2 separate regions of the Homo sapiens genome follow, and region 1 is linked to region 2. The links are contacts of gene promoters, found by promoter capture Hi-C in blood cells and fetal thymus (Javierre and others, 2016). All regions are on one chromosome and are shown on one strand. The core of a region is centred on a gene start or on the middle of the fragment in contact, and the rest is flanking DNA. Distances in the headings are between cores, read along the strand shown.

Region 1 (5,674 bases), core at 67-2,566, 47 kb before region 2:
TCATGGTAGCTGAAAGGTCTGGGATAGAGAAATCAGAGTGTGAAGAACCTTGTGAAATGATGCATGTAAAACTGTTCCATTTGATGAGAATGCAGTGTTTGGCTGGGCATGTGATTGTGTGTATCTATATACGTTATTGTGCAAGATGCATGAGCAAGCCTGTACTCAGAAGACACAGGGACATACATTTATGTAAGACATTGTTTTTGGAGTGTCCCTGCTTCAGTACCCTTTGTGGAGAAAATTGAGAGCTGAATAATCCAGTCATGAATGAGACAGCCCTACTTTCTTTCCCTCCCTTCTTTTCTTCTTCCATCTCAGTCTTTTAATAATTGAATCAGATTTTCTCAGGCCTTAAACTGCTACTCAAAAAACTTTTGCTCCACCCTTGATCTGGAACTACACAGCATAATGATCACAATTTCCCCTTGTCTCACCCACTTTGCACAGATGGGGAAAATGAAGTTGGAAGAGCATATGTTGAGTATAATATTCCTGAATTTTAGGAAAGAGGTCAAGGTTGAGGTGAGAGCCTTGGAGGTCTTCACTTTTTGACTTTCCTACTAATATTTGAGGTTAGACCTCATGAAAAACACTCAGGATGAGATTTTAGGGCACTGGGAAAGTATGCAAGGCAGAAGATGGGTTATCATCACCATGTTCAAAGGAACCTTTGCCACTTTAGTCTGATTCAGTGATGTATAGGCTGGGAGTAGGTGGCATGGCTGCAGAGCCCTCTCCATGGTGAATGTCTAGAGACTCTTAAAGCTTTCTACTCTCTGCCATGAACCCTTTTATGCCTATACTCTAGTGTTATTTTCCTCTGACTCATCTGCCTACTGAGATCAGGCAAGGAAGACTCCCAGCCTCCTCCAGATAGCTCTCCATAATAATAGCTCTCCTTCATGCCCCTCATTCCCCTGCTTTGTTCTTATTTATTTTAGCACTTGGTATAAGAAAGGCCTTACCTAAAATATATAAGAATAGGAGTTCAAATGCCAGGAACAAGGCTGTCTCACAAGGAAAGGAGCAAGTTCTTTATCCTGTAGGTGCTCATGAGCATCTGGAAGTGACCAACCTAGAATTTAGCACTCACTCATGGATGTCCAAGGGCAGCCAGATTCAAATCCCAGCTTTACAACTCACCAGCTGTGTGATCTCAGTCAAGCCACCTAAACTCTCTCAAACTGTTTCCCTATCCGTGTAACCTGGAGAGGTTGATTCCTACTTCATAGGCTACTATGGCGATTACTAGGGGAGACAGTTATCTGAAGAGCCAATTAAAGTACATGGCCACAAAACAGTGGTCAAAAGTGTGATTCATTTGTAAGTCCTTTTAATCTGAAGTAGAGGACAACCTCAGTGAAAAAATTACCTTAGTGGCAGTCCTATCTTTGTTCAACCATATAATAGGCACACTGAGAAGACCAAACAGACAGAGAGACAAACTTACCAGGTCTGAGGCAGGTTGTGATAGTGGAATCTGGTCCTACAGGGGTTAGAGTGTGGGAAGCAAAAGAGCTGGGGTATTTGTCCTCTTATTAGCATCCTACATGAGGGTAGCAATTCTCTGGAGGATAAAGATGCTAAAAAGACCCCTGGGATGCTGGAAAGAGGCAGCAAATTGAAAGCTGGAAATACAGGCCCTGATGGGAGAGGGAAGGATAGGATAGCAGAGATCTATCCTGAGAGTTCCGTGTGGGTAGGTGGGGTAGTTGGAAAGGTCCTTGAGCATAAATAGTCTTAAAGGTTTTTTTGGCATAGAAACATATTTTAGAATGTTTTACCAATTTTGTTTTTTTCTCCTGGCCCCCTCCCTCCTTCTAAAACCAGCTTGTCCAACCTGCAGACCAACACGAATTTGTAAGCTTTCTTAAAACATTATGAAATTTTTTTGTGACTTTTTTTTTAGTTCATCAGCTATCATTAGTGTTAGTGTATTTTATTTGTGGCCTAAGACAACTTCCAGTGTGGCCCAGCCAAAATATTGGACACTGCTGATAAAATATTTGCTTCTTGGTGTTTATTTAGGAAAAACAATTTTTTTTGAACACTAATTCTTCATATATAAAGTAGGGAAGCAGTGAAGATCAAATTAGATTATACATACAAAACATTTATCATTTTGCCTGGTATCTGCTAAGCCCTCAATAAAAAGTGTTTATCTTATTTTATCAAATGTAACGATCACTTACTGAGCATCTGTTATATGTGAAGGATTATGCTAGATTTTAAGGCATAGGGTTGAAGGATCATGCCCCTGTTCTCAAGGAGGTCACAGTCTGGATTGGAGGATGGACAGACATTAAAATCAATTAAAATTCAATGGGACATATGCAGACTTTAAAAAACAGACAGAGGCTCTTTTGGCAGGGGAGGGATTCACTATTAAGAATTAGTCAAGGATTTAGGGTTTAGAAAGATAAAGTGGGTCTGAAGGGAGGAATACACCAGGAAGGGGACACAGCACGTGTAAAACCTGGAAGGCAAGGGACATTGGGCATTTTCTGGGGACCACTGAAGCCTAATTCAAAGCCAATGTTTTCATGATTCTTTTCTGACACGCTGTGTGTGTCCTTTCTCTCTATTGCCCATGCAGCATCTCATCAAATGCCATTCATGGGATAGAGTTCACTCTAAATACTGTTGGCATGACCTTAGGTAAGTTAAGTAACAACTCTCAGCCTCTTGTTCCCCATTTTCAAAAATGGGGAAGACTGAAATGAGATAGCACATATACAATTTTTAGTAAAGTGCCTAGAACCTGGTAAATCATCAGTAGATTCCTACATGCTAGACTTTGTGAAGGCAGAGACCAGGATGAATCTCTCTCTCTGTTGGCATTTAAAAGAAGATTGTGATGATGTTAGGTACTGGGGGAAGGCTGTCAAAAGAACAGATTGGATTCTAATCAAATGTAGTCTGGGCAGATATGAAACTTGATTTCGGACAATAAGTCAACAAACACACATTGACGGCTTATGTTTCTGCTATTGTCCTGGAGATATAAAGGTTTGGAAATATTCCTGCTTTTAAGAAGCTTTAAATGCAGATGGTGAAGGGAAGACCTAGTGGGGAATGACTTGGCCCAGATGATGAAGAGGAAGGTGCAGGCTTTATTCTCCAAACATATAGGTTCCCTGGGAGCTCACAGAGAAATGACACTTCAAATATGAAAAGTTTTGGGGATCCCGAGTTTTGGTCATTCTCCCATTTGGTTCTTCAGGGACTCGACTGATTCTAAAGTGGCAAAACAGATACATGAAATGATTTAAATTTTCTGCCAGCTCCACAATGATCAGAGCCAAGCCTCAGCTCTCCATTATTTTTATGGGTCTCAGGGACAGTCATAGACGTTTAGCATTAACTTAGGATACTATGGGGGCACATTTTATTCAGCCAACAACAACTATTCTATACAATATTATTGAGCACCCACTATGTGTCAGTATTTCTCTACGTACTACTAGGAATGCCATATTGAACAAGGAAGACAAAGTTCTTGTTTCATGGAACGTCTATGCTAATAGGAGACATTTGCATTAAAAAATCAATACATGACAAATAGATATTGATAAGTTCCATGAAATTAGAATGGCTATTATCAACATGATGAAAGATAAGTGTTGGAGAGAATATGAAGAAAAGAGAATCCTTGCCCATGGTTGGTAGGAATGTAAAGCAGTACAGCCTTTATGGGAAATAGTATAAAGCTTCCTCAAAAAGTTAAAAATAGAACTACCTGTATGATCCAGCAACTCCAGAACTGGGTGTCTGGATGTCTAAAACAATGTTAAAGAGATATCCACACTGATGTTCACTACAGCATTAAAGTGCTATGAAGTTAGAATGGCTATTATTAAAATGTTGTAAGATAACAAGCATTGGAGATGGTATAGAGAAATTGCACATGGTTGGCAGGAATGTAAATTAGTATAGCCATCATGGCACATGGTATGAAGTTTCCTCAAAAAATTAAACATAGAACTACCAAAACTTAAAAATAGAACTATCATATGATCTAGCAATCCCAGTACTGGATATATATCTGAAGGAATATGTTGAAGAGATATCTATACTCCAATGTTCACTGCAGCAGTACTCGTAATAGCCAAGATATGGAATCAGTCTAAGTGTCCATCGATGGATGAATGGATAAAGAAAATGTGGTGCGCGCACACACACACACACACACACACAGTGGAATACTATTCTGCATTAAAAAAGGAGGAAATTCTGTCATTTGAGAACATATATAAATCTGGAGTTCATTATGTGAAGTGAAATAAGTCAGGCAGAAAAAGCCAAATATTGCATGATCTTACTTAGATGTGGAATCTAAAAAAGTTGAACACAGAAGTAGAGAAAGTAGAATGGTAGTTCCCAGGGTGTGGGGGTGTCAGGATTGAGGAAATGTTGGTTGGAGGAGACAAAATTTCAGTTAAAAGAAATAAATTTAAGAGACCTATTGTATAAGATGGGAACTACAGTTAATAACAATGTATTATATTCTTGAAACTTATGAAGAGAGTAGATTTTAACTGTTCTCACCACAAAGATGGAAAAGTATGTGAGGTAATATGTTAATTTGCTTGATTTAGCTGTTCCACAATGTATACACATTTAAAAACTCCATGTTGTACATGATAATTATATACAATTTGTTAATGAAAAATAAATTTTTAAAGTGCCGTGGGTAAAAACAGGATAATAAGACAGAAAAATGACATGGGACACAATTTTAGATAGGGTGGTCATGATAGGTCTTTCTGAGAAGGTGACATTTGGTAGAAATCTTGATGAAACAAGTGAACAAGGCATGCAGCTGTATGGAAGACAGTGCTCCAGGCGAAAGGAACAGACATACAGGCCTTGATTTCTGGAATGTGTTTGGTGAATTTGAGGGACAGTATAAGGCCACCAGTTGCTGGACTGGAGTGACTAGGAGGAGATGGTAGGAGAGGTAGCAAAGGTCCAGAGACCAAAAAGGTATTTGTAAACCATGGTGAAGACTGAATTTTGTTTGATCTGTGGTGGAAAGCTATTAGAAGCTTTTGAACAGGGTTCTGTTATACTGTGACTTAAACTTTAAAATACCTGCACCGGGTTCGATGTAAGGGACAAGGATAAAAGAGTCGTTATTGTTACAAAAGTTATTGTTATAGCCAACACAGGAAATGATTTTGCCTTAGACCAGAGTGGCAGCAGGGAGGCAATGAGAAGTGATTACACTTGGGATATACTTTGAAGGTCCAGTTGATAGAATTTGTTGGTAGATTGATTCAATGTGGGGTTATGAGAATATGATGGGCTTCAAGGAAGGCTCCAATCTGAGAAGTTGAGTAAAGGGAAGGGCTTCAATGCACAGGAAACACGAAGAGAAAAGTAGGTTTACAGGTGTGGAGGGAGAGAGGAAGCAGAGTTCTGTTTTGCTCCTGTAAAGTTGGACATGTATATGAGATAAGAATAGATGTTAGAAAAGCAAATAATTGCCATTGCTTTTGGTGTTTTAGTCATGAAGTCCTTGCCCCTGCCTATGTCCTGAATGGTATTGCCTAAGTTTTCTTCTAGGGTTTTTATGGTTTTAGGTCTAATATTTAAGTCTTTAATCCATCTTGAATTAATTTTTGTATAAGGTGTAAGGAAGGGATCCAGTTTTGGCTTTTTACATATG
Region 2 (6,099 bases), core at 1,936-4,435:
GAGTATTGCAAGAACCTACACTCTTGCTTCCCCTTATATTCCATCACTGCTCCCATGAATCCCTCAGACACAAAGACAAATGCCTCATGTAGTCAACACCTCTTGATTATTTTGTCTGAGAATAGTTGGGGCAGGTGGGCAGCTAAAAAATAAACACTAAGTTGTAACCACATATAAACAAACATGGAAAAGAGCATGAATTTTAAAAGGTATTTCCAACAAGAGAAATCTTATTTTCCCATTGACTTATACGGGGAATAACATCATCCTTAAGGTCATATCTATCCCCAGTGAAGAAATAATTTTGTTCCCAGAACAAGTCCAGTAGTATAAGGATCCCATAGACAGGTAATATATCAACATAACATTAGCACAGCCAGGATTAGTCACAAATAGTAAAAGGAAAATTACCTTCTCTATGAGCTCATTTGAGTTTAGCACACAATCAAAACATGAATAAGAAATATGAGTAGCCTACAGGCACATATAATTTTATACCCATATAGATGGGTATATAGATTAGGATAAAGGAAACTTGATGCAGTTATCTAGGCCTAGATGCAATACTTCTAATCACTCAAAAACTAGGTCATCCCAACATTCCAAGCTAGGACACAGAGGTGCACATCATCCTTAAAGTAGGATCAATGCTTGAGTATAGGATCCTGTTCTGCCTAGCAACCCTCACAACACCTTCCCACCTACGTGTTCCTCAAGCAAGGAGTCTTGGTGTTATCTTTGATTTCTTTTTCTCTCACAGCCTGGAGCTAATTTTTCAGGAATTCCCACTGGCACTTAAAAAATAGATATAAAATCTGATACATCTGATTTCTCTCCATATATATGATTAACACATTGATTTGGAAACACCATCTTCTCTCTGGATGCCTACAATAGCATCTGTAATCCTTTCTCTGCTTTCATCCTCATCATCTTGTGCTGTTCCCATTAAGTCAGAAGCAATATCTAAAAAACATATGTCAAATAATGTCAATTCACTGCTCAACCTTGGCTTTTATTCCGAGAGAAATTATGAACCTTTGCAAAGTGAAATCCTTACATGGCTGATATGGTTTGGCTCTGTGTCCACACCCAAATCTCCTCTCGAATTGTAATCCCCACATGTCAGAAGAGGGGACCTGGTGAGAGGTGATAGGATCATGGGGGCAGATTTCCCCCTTGATGTTCTGTTTAAAAGCGTATGGCCCCGCCCCCATTCCCTTTTTCCTGCTCCGCTGTGGTAAGACCTGCTTGCTTCCCCTTCATCTTCTGCCATGACTAAGTTTCCTGAGGCCTCCCAGCCATGCTTCTGTACAGCCTGCAGGAACTGTGAGTCAGTCAAACCTCTTTTCTCCATAAAAGTACCCAGTCTCAGGTAGTTCTTCATAGCAGTGTGAGAACAGACTGATACAAAGGCCTACAATGTTCTGTGTGATCACAGCTAACTGGAAAAAAAAAAAAAGAAAGCAGCACCCAGGTATGGGTAGGGCACATTATATTCACAGGATCAACAATAAGACTGATATTAATAGATACTTGACTTCAAAAAAAGCAAGTGAAGGCAGAATACAATTAATATACTAAAGTGGATGAAAGAAGAATTGCCCATTTAAAAACCTATTCAAATTGAAATAGAATTTTAGACAGAGGCCCGGGAGGTGAGTCATCTTTCACAAACAAAGATGACTAAGATAATTTTACAAATGAGCAAAAGTTGATGGAATGTGTCACTATATGGCCTGTAATAAAAGCAAAAATAAAAGTAGTTTTTCATGCAGAAAAAAAATGATCCAGATGGAAACATGAAAAACCTGGAGGGAATGAAGAACACCAAAACAAAGATGCATATGAATGTAAAAGAATCTAGATTTTACAAAAGAAAAGATAGGGTGGGGAGGATGTCAATGAATTAAACAGTCTAAGTGTTCCAATATTCCAGCAGTTATCTCCAGCATGGTTTGAGCCAATGGCCCCACTGCCCACTCCCCCACTCCATGTGCTTCTTATCCTGCTCCTATGATGTCAGGATTGCCCATTCAGAATGGAGTTGGGGGCAAATTAAGGTGCTTTGTTCACAAAAACACTGTCTATTCTATCTGGCTCTTGTCTGGCTTTTATCTGGCTTTTGCCATATTAGGTTTTGGTGAGGTGCTTTTCATACAGGCTGTATCCCCTTGGCCTAGCTGTACATTGTTAAAACTATGTAGGAATTCCACTTTATCCCAGCATCCCAAAAGATCAGACTTATCATGGAGGAGTGCTGAGTCCACACCCTTGAGGGCCAACTATTACAGAAGGGGAAGTTAGTTCCAGGGTACCTGTGTGGGAAGGGAGTGAGATGACTGAGTTACAGCGTTCTGAGATTGCTTTTAAAAATTATGGGGAATTAGGGTAGACAAAATCCATGGAGAACTCTAGTGAAAAGCATCTTCTCAGGTCCTTGAAAAATAGCACACATTAAGTCAGCTGTAGGTAGAAAGATCACTCTTTATCATTTATAGATGATTGGTAATTTCCTAATTATTAATAAGGAATCACATTCATAGTGGCCTCTTGTTTATCTACTTAGATCCTCCTATCCTTGTGAGTTAGAAAATATTGTAAAAGTTATCTCTACCTTAGAGATAAGAAAAATAGATCAGGGATCAGACAGGTGCCAGATCAAGTTCACGAGCTGGTTATTAATGCATATCTCAGGCCAATATGAAATATGAATGCAAAATAAAATGCCTAATGGATGACCTTGGCCTGGTCAGGCTGGACTCCCTGCCCTTTCAAGTCAGTTCTGACAGGAGTTGCCTGCAGTGTATATTTTCTGATGAGGCTGGCTTTCTTTGAAGACACTGTAAGGATAAAGAGTAAGGAGAGGCACAGCAAACACCAAGACACAAGCCAGCTCCACCTGAAAGTCTCACAGCCTCTGGCAAGTAGGGCATGACCCCTGGTAGGCACAACTCAGTGCCACTAGCTGGGGAGGAGGCATGGGTTGTAGGAAACAAGGATACAGTCCCCTTGGGTCAGGGGAAGTCCCCTTGCATCAACCCAGAGAGAGGAGGCCAGAGATGTCTCTGAGGACTCTGCTCAAGTGCAGCAGTTTCTGCTTCCACAGCCTTCTGGGAGAAGGGCAGAGGTTGGTGAGGATTAAAGCCAGCTGCTCGCTTCCCAGCTTCCTCCTTCTAAGACTCCTTAGACTGAAAGAGGAAGGCGGCACTGGTGCTGCATGAAGCTAATGAAAAGGGCCCAGGATTGTAAGTCAGACTGAGGACTGTGGATACAGCTGCAACTTAGGGAAATAGAAAACAAGTGATGTTATTGGGGTGAGCAGGAAGGTGGGAGTGAGCTGGAAGGTGGGGGCACTGTCAATTTCTTCCCATAGCCATTCCTGATCTTAGGCATCAGCTCTCCAACCCTGTTATTGCTTCTACTCTGGTCCTTCAATAGAGGGAACAGAAGTCTCGATAGTCCCACCCAACTGTTTGGTACACAAACTCCAGATGCTCTCCCCACCACAGAGGATGCCTGCTTCCGTCCTATGCCAAACACTGTGGGCCATCTCCAAGAAGTCTTAGTTGATTATTCCAGTTTGGATCTGTCACTTCTCACCTCCTGTCATTGCTTTTTCTAACCCCTGGCAAATGCCCCATCCCAGTTAAAGGGCTTCTGCATTAGTCAAGAGGAAGAAAACGAGGCCTGAACTAGAAAGATGGCAGGGAAAGGTAAGAAATACCTTATCTTTGAGGTTCTTCTACCAGAAGCAGTCCTGAAGTATCTTGATTATGTGATTATCCTTCCTTGTCTGGTTCTAAGTTTTTCAGATATGTCATTCTGATATCCTTTTAAGATAAAGGTATAGGCAACCAAATAGATTCAGTATTAATTGAGTCCATTCTGGGTACAGAGGCCTTTTTTAAGGAGAAATAGAAGATAAATCCTTTGAGCATGGACATCTTAGTTCTGAAAACAATGAACAGTCTGGACAAAACTTGCACTACAGAGGAGGTCTTAGTTTCTGGATATTAGGGGAAGAAGACTGGCTCCATTCACACTCCTACTCAGAGCACTTCATTCTGAGGAGTTGATTTTAGATGAACTTCAAAGGAAGTAAGATTTATGAACTATTAGACACCCTGTCTTTTCAGGAAGAAATCTGATAGAAGAGATGCCTTTTTTTCTTGTATGAAGATGGGTAGACAGCTCACAGGGTGGTTAGTGATGTTTAAAAGTTGAATGGAGGAATCTAGGGGGACATGGAGACTCAAAGTAAAACATGTGGGTTTTGTGGAAAATACATATTGAGATAAGGTAAAGATGCAGCAGGTTTGTGGGATTATTTCACAGTATTTTAGAAGAGTTTCTTAGACGCCAGGCATGTTTCTAGGTACTGATATGTACTTGAAAATAAAAATGTCTGTTGTCATAAGAGCTTGTTCCTGACAAAAATGCACAAACATTATGAATATTTAAAATAGTATTTTCCATTAAGAAGAGAATTTTATTCTGATGCAGGTAACAAAGTATTGTAATCGGGATGCTTAGAACCTCCATTCTGGATGCATTTTAAATGAGAAGATAACCCAAATTCTGAGCTTAAATCACATGAGGGGAGTAGTATTCTGAGAAATATGTCTTCCAATAATCTAGTAGTCTGTTTTATTTAGTGAAATGTTCCACACCTATGTATGTTAGAGGCTGGGTTTACAGAAGGAAAATAGGTAGAGTTTCTTAACTCCAGTCCCTTCACTTCATGATATGGTGGGTAATTGTTGAAGGATAAATATTGGAGAACAAAGTGGAACTTTGTGTACTTGTTAGGATTCTTTTGTAGCAGTAGTTGCTGGGAGATGCTGTGGCTTGAACAAGGGTGATGGTGTTGGAAGGGTGGAAGTGTTGGAAACGCAATGGGCAACGTGGAGATTTACTATGTAGGATGATCCAGTGTGCTTGCTGATGATTAAATATGATGCAGGAAGAAAAGAGAAGAATCCAGGATGACTTGATTCTAGGTTGAGCAACTGGTTGGGCAGGATGTTACGTTCTGAGATATGGGCAGCACAAGAAGAGAAGTAGTCATGATTTCTGCCTCAGGCATGGCAGGTTTGACATATCTGTGAGGAAGATATGTGGGGATATCGAGTATGGAGTTGGATATCCTAGTCTGGAGCTTACAAGGAATGTAAGGTATGTAAATTTGTGTTTGTTTCAGGATATGTTTATATTCTCAATGATCAACCAGCAGACCACCTAGAAAGATGCAATATTCACGGTCTTTTCAGGAGCAGTATTCTCTTTCTTCGTCTAAGTTTCAACTTTTCCCCTACTACTGGATAATTTGCTTCAGCTAAAGACATGATACTTCTGTTCTAAAACACACAGACACACACACACACACACACACACACACACACACACAGTTGACTTCGCTTTCCATTTTAGCCAGTGCCCTATTTACTTGCTGTCCTTTGCTTCCAAATTCCTCAAAAAAGTTAGCCATGTTAACAAACTTCAATTCCCCTCTTATCTATTCTAACTCAGTCAAGTCAGGCTTTGCCTGTCTCTCTTCTAGCAAAATTGCTTTTATCAAGGTATCCAATCCTCTTGTGCAATTCTAAACACAAGGCCAATTGTGTTTTCAAGTTCTTTGACTCATCAGTAGCATTTTACATGGTAATAATCCACTTGTTAGTAAACTATATTCTATATACTAAGATAGTACATTATTTGGGGATGTTTCTATCTTAATAGTTTCCACTGTCAGTTTCCCTTGCGAATATCTCAGTGTGCTCCAACTCTTCTCCCATCCATTCTTAATGTTGGGATTCAGTTCTGGGTTCTCTAGTTCTCTTTTCTGTGAACATTTACTGTCTGGGCGATCTCAAACAGTTTTGTGGCTTTAAATATGATTTATTTTCTATACGTATTACCATATTCACTTGAATTTCTGATATCTCAAACTCACCATGTTCAAAAATTGAAGTCTCGAGCTCCTCCTTTCATGCTTTCCCCGTCTCAGTTGGGAGCAGCTCCTATCAGTGGTTTATGCCAAAAATCAGGGTGTCATCTTCGACTCCCTGTTGTCTCACTTCCTATATCTAACCTGTC

Evidence for each region. Contacts are between HindIII fragments. The CHiCAGO score rates a contact against its expected background, and 5 or more counts as called.
Region 1: a fragment that was not itself captured here is called in contact with the fragment with the promoter of OR52K1 in region 2 in 2 of 17 cell types (monocytes and M2 macrophages); the score reaches 6.5 in monocytes.

The regions. Positions count from the first base shown.
Region 1 is chr11:4,433,928-4,439,601 of GRCh38, forward strand. No RefSeq gene overlaps it. Among named protein-coding and RNA genes, the nearest start is that of OR52K2, 13 kb to the right of the region's middle. The HindIII fragment of the contact is 1,100 bases long and covers 767-1,866 here.
Region 2 is chr11:4,479,461-4,485,559 of GRCh38, forward strand. It overlaps OR52K1 (olfactory receptor family 52 subfamily K member 1), which reads left to right and starts at 3,186. Exons shown (of 2, transcript NM_001005171.3): 1 at 3,186-3,716. The HindIII fragment of the contact is 19,878 bases long and covers 1-6,099 here.